Regions from separate parts of the Homo sapiens genome. Here region 2 is linked to region 1. The links are contacts of gene promoters, found by promoter capture Hi-C in human tissues and cell types (Jung and others, 2019). All regions are on one chromosome and are shown on one strand. The core of a region is centred on a gene start or on the middle of the fragment in contact, and the rest is flanking DNA. Distances in the headings are between cores, read along the strand shown. Region 1 holds the start of CEP250 (centrosomal protein 250). Region 2 has its middle 35 kb from the start of NORAD.

Evidence for each region. Contacts are between HindIII fragments. The study calls those that stand out against the background at their distance.
Region 2: a contact is called between a fragment that was not itself captured here and the fragment with the promoter of CEP250 in region 1, in 3 of the 25 tissues and cell types used here (liver, lymphoblastoid cells and spleen).

Annotation. Positions count from the first base shown.
Region 1 is chr20:35,452,894-35,457,247 of GRCh38, forward strand. It overlaps CEP250 (centrosomal protein 250), which reads left to right and starts at 2,705. Exons shown (of 35, transcript NM_007186.6): 1 at 2,705-2,858. It overlaps MIR1289-1 (microRNA 1289-1), which reads right to left and starts at 1,204; the gene lies at 1,061-1,204. It also overlaps a transcript of GDF5 not described here. RefSeq lists enhancers at 1,640-1,689, 1,950-2,099 and a silencer at 2,120-2,499. The HindIII fragment of the contact is 9,261 bases long and covers 886-4,354 here.
Region 2 is chr20:36,083,862-36,088,614 of GRCh38, forward strand. No RefSeq gene overlaps it. Among named protein-coding and RNA genes, the nearest start is that of NORAD, 35 kb to the left of the region's middle. The HindIII fragment of the contact is 7,451 bases long and covers 1-4,753 here.

The DNA of each region.
Region 1 (4,354 bases), core at 1,455-3,954:
GCTTAAATTTTGGAGGGAATGTTAATAGGAAAACAAAATAATAAATGGAAAGTGCTATGAAAGAAACAGAAGACGGCCGGGTGCGGTGGCGCATGCCTGTAATGCCAGCATTTTGGGAGGCTGAGGCGGGCGGATCACGAGGTCAGGAGATCAAGACCATCCTGGCTAACACGGTGAAACCCCGTCTCTACTAAAAATACAAAAAAATTAGCCGGGCGTGGTGGCGGGCACCTGTGGTTCCAGCTATTGGGGAGGCTGAGGCAGAAGAATGGCGTGAACCCGGATGGTGGAGCTTGCAGTGAGCCGAGATTGCGCCGCTGCACTCCAGCCTGGGCGACAAAGCAAGACCCCGTCTCAAAAAGAAAAGAAACAGAAGACTATCCTAGAAAGTATAGGGTATTACTTTAGATAGCATGGTCAGGGAAGACCTAGTTGAGGAAGTATCATTTAAGCTGGGACCTGAAGGACAGGAAGGTACCAGCTAGGCCAAGAGCTGGGGGAAAAGTGGTCTAGGTAGCTGGCATAGTGTATGCAAACGCCCTGAGGCAGAAAAGAGCTTGATGTGCATAATATTTAGATTGTTTCATTTGTATTTCAAATATTGTTGCAGTGAACATTCAAGCACAATGCCTGTTGTGGGATTATTTCCCTAGGATGGAATCCCACACCACTGCTTCTTTGCATCGTTTTCTCTGTCTAGTGCCTGGAGATGTTCCTTTTCCCCTCTCTAGATAGTTTGCCTTTCAGAATCCGTGTCCTTCCTTCCCCTTTTACTCTCCACTTTCTCTATTTCTCAAATTAGCTATTAAGATCTTTTTTGTGTTCTTACAGGAGAAAGATAAAATATAGCTTTTAAGCGTTCCTTTCTCAGGTTACCTTTGGCTGTGGATTAACCTGAAGCCTTGCTGTTTCACTCGAGCTATCCACTCATTCACCCATTCACTCAGCACTTATTGAGCACCTATTTTGTACCAGGCCTTGTGCTGAGCGCTATAGTCAGATGACCAAATTACAGTCTCTACGCTCAAGCTCACAATCTCATGCAGCGCTTCCTAAAACGTGTTCCCAATTATCAGAATCACCCTGGGTACTTTCTAAAATGCAGATTCCTGGACTCCACCCCCGGTTTAGGGATTCTCTGGGGGTGGAAACCAAGAGTCTGCATTTACCAGTTTTGTTTTTAATTCCTACTAAAAATTGAGAACCACTGAGTGCAAGAGTGAGGCAGGTAAATGGAGTTTACAACTCTAAGAAAGTGCATTAACAATTTATACACAAGGCCGGGCGCGGTGGCTCACGCCTGTAATCCCAGCCCTTTGGGAGGCCGAGGCGGGAGGATCACGAGGTCAAGAGAGATCGAGACCATCCTGGCCAACATGGTGAAATCCTGTCTCTACTAAAAATACAAAAATTAGCCGGGCGTGGTGGCGGGCGCCTGTAGTCCCAGCTACTCGGGAGGCTGAGGCAGGAGAATTACTTGAACCTGGGAGGCAGAGGTTGCAGTGAGCCGAGATCGTGCCAATGCACTCCAGCCTGGCGACAGAGCAAGACTCCATTTCAAAAAAAAAAAAAAAAATTTATACACAAAATGCTACAGGAATAACGCATGGGTCCTATTGGGAAGAAAAAGTTCTCTAGAAGTCAGGCTTAAGCAGAACTGCAGCTCCGGGACGGATTAAGTCAGGTAAAGGTAACACTCTGTGCAGAGACATGCAGACAAAACCGAGTGTTGAGTAAGTAACTCGCCTGTAAGTGTTATGCTGCCTGAAGCTTCTCGGAGCGTCTGAGCAGCAAGGTGAACAACCCTCAGAAACCGGTCGCGCTGCCAGTATTATCGCTAACCAGTGGCAGCGAGCCCCTTTGTTTCTCGGCAGTTGTAATTGTAGTCTGGTTTGTAGGTGGAGCTGTGCGCAGGCGCACCTAGAACCAGGTGACCTTGCACATGCGCTGTATGTAACACTGAAGCCAAAAGCGAAATGATTGAGGGCAATTTTTCTTTTCTGCTTCCGAAATGTCCCTTTCGCGAATCCAGAGACCCTGACCGTCCCCATTTCTGGCTAGGGATCTTATAATTCTTAAAATAATACCCCCTTTCCTTCAGGGCCTCTCTAGTAAGTCGGCTGCCAATACCCAACATGGCGGGAGGCCCTGCGCCGGCTCAGTCTGCCTATAGGTGCAGGACTTGGAGGGGCGGGCCCCTCCCAAAGGGCGGGAGTTTGGGGGGGCGGGGCCTGGCCCTCTGCCTCGGGGTGGGCTCCGCCCCCGTCCCCCGCAGGGCCTTAGCAGCGGCTGCCGCAGCTCAATCGCGGAGCAACTAGCCGGGCGTCTGCGGGAGCCGAGCGTGGTGAGGTGGGGCCTCAGGGGCAGGTGGGAGGTGCTCGGGTTAACCGTCCGAGGCCCGGAGACCCGCCCGTCTAGGGCGCCTGAGGGAATCCCGTTCGGGCAGCGGCCTCTTGTTACCCGGGAGGAACCCGAGGCCCAGAGAGGGGCTGGGACGCGTCGTTAGGGCCCGGGGCCCGCTTGCCTCAGCTTCTTGCTGCCGCCAGCACGCTAAGCTCCAGTCGGCGCCGAAGGAGAGCTTCCCGACCCTCGTGTCCAGTAGCCGCAATCCCAGGCTGGGAGGGTGAGGCGCCGCGCTCTGCCGCCCCCCCGCCCCTCGCTCCCTGTGTCCTGGCGGATTTGCACGTAATCTATCCGAAAGCCCAGTCCCACCCGCCACCCGACTCTGGAGCTCCCATTCTTCAGGACCCTGCTGAAGTATCGCTTCTCAGCCGCCTTCTCCAGGCGCAGCTGCATTCGCTTCTCGGTTTTTGCACTCGCTGTGCACCGAGTTACTTTCCCGGCCCCTCGTTGACACCGTAAGCTCGTTCGTTAGATGTTATGCCTTGCCTTTTTCATCTCTAGATCCCAGGGCCTAGCACGTGATGATAATAGTCATGGCTTACTGTACGGAATGATCACAAATTGTCAGGTGCTACTGAATGCATTACACATAAGGGCCCATTTATTTATTTATTTAGAGACGGAGTTTCGCGCTTGTTGCCCAGGCTGGAGTGCAATGGCGCGATCTCGGCTCACCTCAACCTCCGCCTCCCGGGTTCAAGCGATTCTCCTGCCTCAGCCTCCCAAGTAGCTGGGATTGCAGGCATGCGCCACCACACCCGGCTAATTTTATGTTTTTAGTAGAGACGGGGTTTCTCCATGTTGGTCAGGCTGATCTCGAACTCCCGACCTCAGGTGATCCGCCCGCTTCGGCCTCCCAAAGTGCTGGGATTACAGGCGTGAGCCACCGCGCTCAGCCAAAGGCCTATTTAATCTTCCCAACAATCCTATGGGGTGAGTTCTTTCTATAGCTTCACGTTTTACCCATGAAGAAACTGAGGTATTCATAGAAAAAGTAATTTGCCAGGAGTCCCACAACTAATAAGTGGATGGAGCTGGGAAACTGTCCCCAGGGCATTTGATGACTTGACTAGATTGCCTTTGGGTTTAATCAACGTCTGTTGAATTGATCTTTACTTTGGCCCTGGGAGTTATTGGAGGCTAGGCTTGTGATCAGTATTTTACCGCGAAGGCTTAGAAAGGAGAACTGGTCCCAGATTTATAGAGGTCACAACAAAACCAAGGCTACTGGTACGCCCTCTGTTCCTTTAGTTCTTCTATCTTTCTTTGCTCCTTTTCGATCAGAAAGCTGCAGACATAGGTGTCATTATCGCTCACTATTTAAGAAGTGCCCCTCACAGAGCTGTGAGTTCGTAGTCCATGCTTTAACTAATGTAATGTTCATGCTTTAACAGCTAATGTAATGGAGAGAGTGTAGAATTTGGAATCAGATTGGGGTTCAGTCATTGCTCTGCCACTGACCAAGCTATAAGTTATATGCCTCCCCCCACTTTTTTTTTTTTTTTTGAGACCTGGTCTCAGTCACCCAGGCTGGAGTGCAGTGGTGCGATCTGGGTTCACTGGAACATCCTGTCTCCCAGGTTCAGGCGATTCTCCCGCCTCAGCCTCCTGAGTAGCTGGGATTACAGGCGCCCGCCACCGTGCCTGGCTAATTTTTGTATTTCTAGGAGAGATGGGGTTTTGCCATGTTGGCCAAGCTGGTCTCGAACTCCTGGCCTCAAATGATCTGCCCAACTCAGCCTCCCAAAGTGCTGGGATTACAGTTGTGAGCCACCACACCCAGCCTGTTTTTTTGCTTTTTATATAGGTAATAGAGCTGTTAGCATTTTGCAAGACCATTGGTGATAATATGGATCATGTTACCTAATGTCCTATAATAGTCAGTAATAATGGGCACTTGTTATAAACCAGGCTGTGTTTTAGGTAGGAGCTGGGAATACAGCATTCGATA
Region 2 (4,753 bases), core at 2,095-4,594, 630 kb after region 1:
GGTGGTGGGTGCCTGTAATCCCAGCTACTTGGGAGGCTGAGGCAGGAGAATTGCTTGAGCCTGGGAGGCAGAGGTTGCAGTGAGCTGAGATCGCGCCACTGCACTCCAGCCTGGGCGACAGAGTCTCCATTCCCCCCATCCCCCCAACTCCAAAAACAAACAAACAAAAACACAACTTGCTTTCACTTTACCCTATGGACTTGCCCTGAATTCTTTCTTGTGCAACATCCAAGAACCCTCTCTTAGGGTCTGGATCCAGACCCCTTTCCAGTAACACTTCTGTTTTTCTGGAGAACTCAGAGTAATACAATTTGTGACTGCGTCTTGTTAAGGAACTATTTCCCTACCCTGAGGTCCTGAAGATGATTTTCTTTAGTTTCTAAAGATCATAAAGTTTTGCTTTTCAAATTCAGGTCTTTAATCTAACCGGGGGTTATTTTAATGTATGCTACAAGGTAGGAAGCCATTTTATTTTTTTTCCAAATGATTAACAAGTTGTTCAGTGTTATTTTAAAACAATCCATCTGTATTAGTTTCCCAGAGCTGTCATAACAAATTACCACAAGCTGGGTGGCTTAAAACAACAGAAATTTATTTTCTCACAGTTCAGAAGGCCAGAAGTCTGAAATTAAGGTGTCAGCAGCACTGGTTCCTTCTGAAGATTCTGAGGGAGAAAACCTCCCATGCCTCTCTCTTAGCCTCTGGCGGTTGCCAGCAATCCTTGGCTTGTGGACACATCACTAATCTTTCTCTCCATCTTCACATCGTTTTATATTCTGTTTCCCTGTGTCTTCTCCTCTTCTTATAACGACACCAGTCATTGGATTTAGGGCCCACCCTAAATCCAGGATGAGTTATTCTTAAAATCTTGAGCTAATTACATCTGGAAAGACCCCATTTCCAAATAAGTTAATATTCTGAGGTTCTGAGGGGACATGAATTTTGCGGGGTACACTATTCAGCCCACTATATAGCATCATCTTTTGCTACTCTTTTGCAAATTCTATTTCTGTTGTTTATCCAGTGTCCATTTATGTGTGGGCAGAGTGGTCATTTTATAATATAAATCTCTGATGAAATGGTTAGACATTTTTCATGAGATAATCTTATTTAATCCTCACAGCAGTGCCGTGAGGTAGATGCTACTAAAATCACCTACTGTTGAGAGGTGTGCCAGTCAGCATTTGCTAAGTATGACGTGATAACAAACAACCCCAAACTCTCAGTGACTTACAAAAAGCCAATTGCTTTCTTCATCACATTACACATCACAGCTGTAGATTCACTGCAGCTTTGCTCTGTGTCTTTTCATTCCAGGGTCCAGGCTGAAGGTGCAGGCCCTATCCAAGACACAACATTTCCAGTGGCAGAGATAAAAAAGTAAGATTTCAGACTCAAACATGCAATGGCACTCCAAGTTTCTGCTTCGAACTGGCATGTATCTCTCTAGCTCACATTTCATTGGCCAAAGGAAGTCATGTGGTTAAGCTTGACAATGGGCTGGGGAAGTGCACTCCTTCCTCTGGAAGGTACACAAGTCACATGGCAACTGGCTAGGATGGATAATTCTCTTACTGGCCAAGGGAAGGGCAAATAATGGAGAAAAATAATACGTCAACCACAGGGGTTGAGTAACTTTCCCAAGATCAAACCACTGGGAAGGGACAGAGGCAGATTCAAACTCAGACAGTCTCCAAAGCCATAGTGAACTCCATGGCTCCCTACTGCCTGTTAGATGGAATCCAAATATATTTAAGCTTTAGGGCATTCCTGCAGCCTGGAGGGCCCTTCTACCTAATTTGTGTGCTGAATTCACTCTTTAAGGCTCCACTCCAATCTCAACTCCTTGGACTCACTCTTATTTGTCATGTGTTCCCTCTGCTCTAAGGCCCTTGTACAGTGTTCCCAAATGTTTGCAGTATTTTGGGATGAAAGGAGTGAGGGGCACAAGCTGCAAGTGGACTGTGCTCCTGAGGATGAGAGCACTTTGCCTACTTTTCCACCCCTCTAAACTAAGCTTAGTATCTTGTGCTTGGGTGACTCTGACAGGTCAGCCCCGCATGACTCACTCTGTAAGCCTTCAGCGCGGGTCACCACAAGGTCCTGGTTTAGGGTGTGTGAGTTGGTGGGTGGGGAGGGGAGGTGGAAATTAACTTTCACCTTTCAGGAACCTTTCCCTTCCCCAGGAGAAGGACAAGTGTAAGTCCTTCCCTTAAGTAGTCTGGGCAAGTCTCTACTCATCACTCCTAGGAGGACTGGGGAGGTCCTGGAAGGTGCAGAGGAGGAAGCTCTGAGAAGTAGAAACAGCACCAAACTGCACCATAGAAGACTTTACTAATTTGTCCAAATGACAGAATTTACCTTCTCTGAGCTTCAGTTTCCCCAGCTATAAAGTGGCAACAACACTGATCTTGCCCTCCTCCCTAAGTTGCTACAAAAAGACATAGTAAAAATCTTTAGGGTGCCGGGCAGGGTGGCTCACGGCTGTAATCTCAGCACTTTGGGAGGCTGAGGCAGGCAGATCACCTGAGGTTAAGAGTTCGAGACCAGCCTGGCCAACATGGTGAAACCCCATCTCTACTAAAAATACAAAAATTAGCCAGGCATGGTGGCAGGCACCTGTAATCCCAGCTACTTGGGAGGCTGAGACATGAGAATCGCTTGAACCCGGGAGATGGAGGTTGCAGTGGGCAAAGATAGTGCTACTGCACTCCAGCCAGGGTGATGGAGCAAGACTCCATTTCAAAAAAAAAAAAAAAAAAAAATCTTTAAGAATGCAGCCTTGAAATCGCACAGACTTGTACTGGAATCCTTCTCATAAGCTATGTGACTGAGAAAGTTATAGATCTTCATAAGCCATTACAGCTACCTCCCAGGGTGAGAAAATTATGTAAATAAATTTCCTAACATATACTAAGTACTCAATAATGTTGGCTATTCCTATATGAGATGATGAAACTTATTATTATATAGGGAAAGTCCCAGACGAGGACCCATTTTTGAACATTGAAAGGAGGGAGTACAGAGGCTAACTTTTCTTAGAATTGGTTGCTTCTTTTAGCCAAGTATAAGGTGTGGCTCAAAGGAATGAGGAAGCAGTTAATGAGGTGACAGGGCACAGAATACTGTTTGTCTTCACAGATCTTGGGGGAGGGATACAGTGGTTAGCTGACCTTCCCAAAAGATCAGAGATCCTGGTGTCTTGTCCACCCACAGATGCAGGCCACTTGACTCTGTCCTGTCCCCTCCTACCAGTCCAGTCACCACGTTCTGGTGAGGCTGCCTTTGAAATAATAATAACAATGGTACTTGTACTAATGATATTATTACTTTGAAGTGTATGAAGGCTTTCTAATACATCATCCCAGTTATCCTTCATTATCTCTCTCCCATTCACAGAATCCAGAGTTAGGAAGGATATTGCAGATCATTCTGCATTTTACAGATGGGATCTCTGAAATTTGAATAAAGGAAGGGATCTACTCAAGGGCTGGGATTTACCTGAGACTACACAATAAGTTAATGGCAGGGGCAGGACTAGAACCTGCAGCTCCTGACTACCAGCCTAGTGCCAGTGCCTCTTTCAAGTCACACTTGCATTGGCTTTCCATTCCCATGGCCTCCCAGTCTATTCTTTTTTTTTGTTTTTTGTTTTGTTTTGTTTTGTTTTGAGACGAGTTTCGCTCTGTCGCCCAGGCTGGAGTGCAGTGGTGTGATCTCGGCTCACTGCAACCTCCGCCTCCCGGGTTCAAGCAATTCTCTGCCTCAGCCTCCCAAGTGGCTGGGATTACAGGCACCCACCACCATGCCTGGCTAATTTTTTTGTATTTTTAGTAGAGACAGGGTTTCACCATGTTTGCCAGGCTGGTCTTGAACTCCTGACCTTGTGATCCACCCTCCTCGGCCTCCCAAAGTGCTGGGATTACAGGCATGAATCACCGTGCCCAGCCCCAGTCTATTCTTTTATCTCCTGGACCACTGCAGTGGTTTCCTACTGGTCCTGCCTGCCTCTGATCCCTCCCCACCCATTTCTTCTACACATACAGTCACATAATTGTCTGGAAGCACAGCTTTGATCTTGTCTTTCCCTTCCTAATAGAACTTGCCCATTTTTTCAACTTGAGAGGTCACCAGGATCCTAGTTCAATTTCCCAATGAAGACTTAATCTTTCCTTGAATACATATATTGACAAGGAGTTCATCACTCCCAAGGTGGTCCATTCCATTCTTGGGTAGCTCCAACTGTTAGGGAGTTCTTTATAGTGAGCTGAAATTGTCTTCCTGGATATCCCCCCACTGGAGGTGATGTGATGGAATTCTCTTTTTTTTTTTTTTTTTTTTGAGACCGAGTCTCACTGTGTTGCCCAGGCTAGAGTGCAGTGGTACAATCTCAGCTCACTGCAACCTCCGCCTCCCAGGTTCAGCAATTCTCATGTCTCAGCCTCCCGAGTAGCTGGGACTTACAGGCATGAGCCACCAAGCCTGGCTAATTTTTTTGTGTTGTTAGTAGAGACAGGGTTTCACCATGCTGGCCAGGTTGGTCTCAAACTCCTGGCCTCAGGTGATCTGCCTGCCTCGGCCTCCCAAAGTGCTGGGATTACAGGTGTGAGCCATCACACTTGGCCCCTTTTTGTTTTTTTTTTTTTTTAGACAGAGTTTCACTCTTGCTGCCTAGGCTGGAGCGCAGTGGTGTGATCTTGGCTCACTGCAACCTCCACCTCCCAGATTCAAGACATTCAGCCTCCCAAATAGT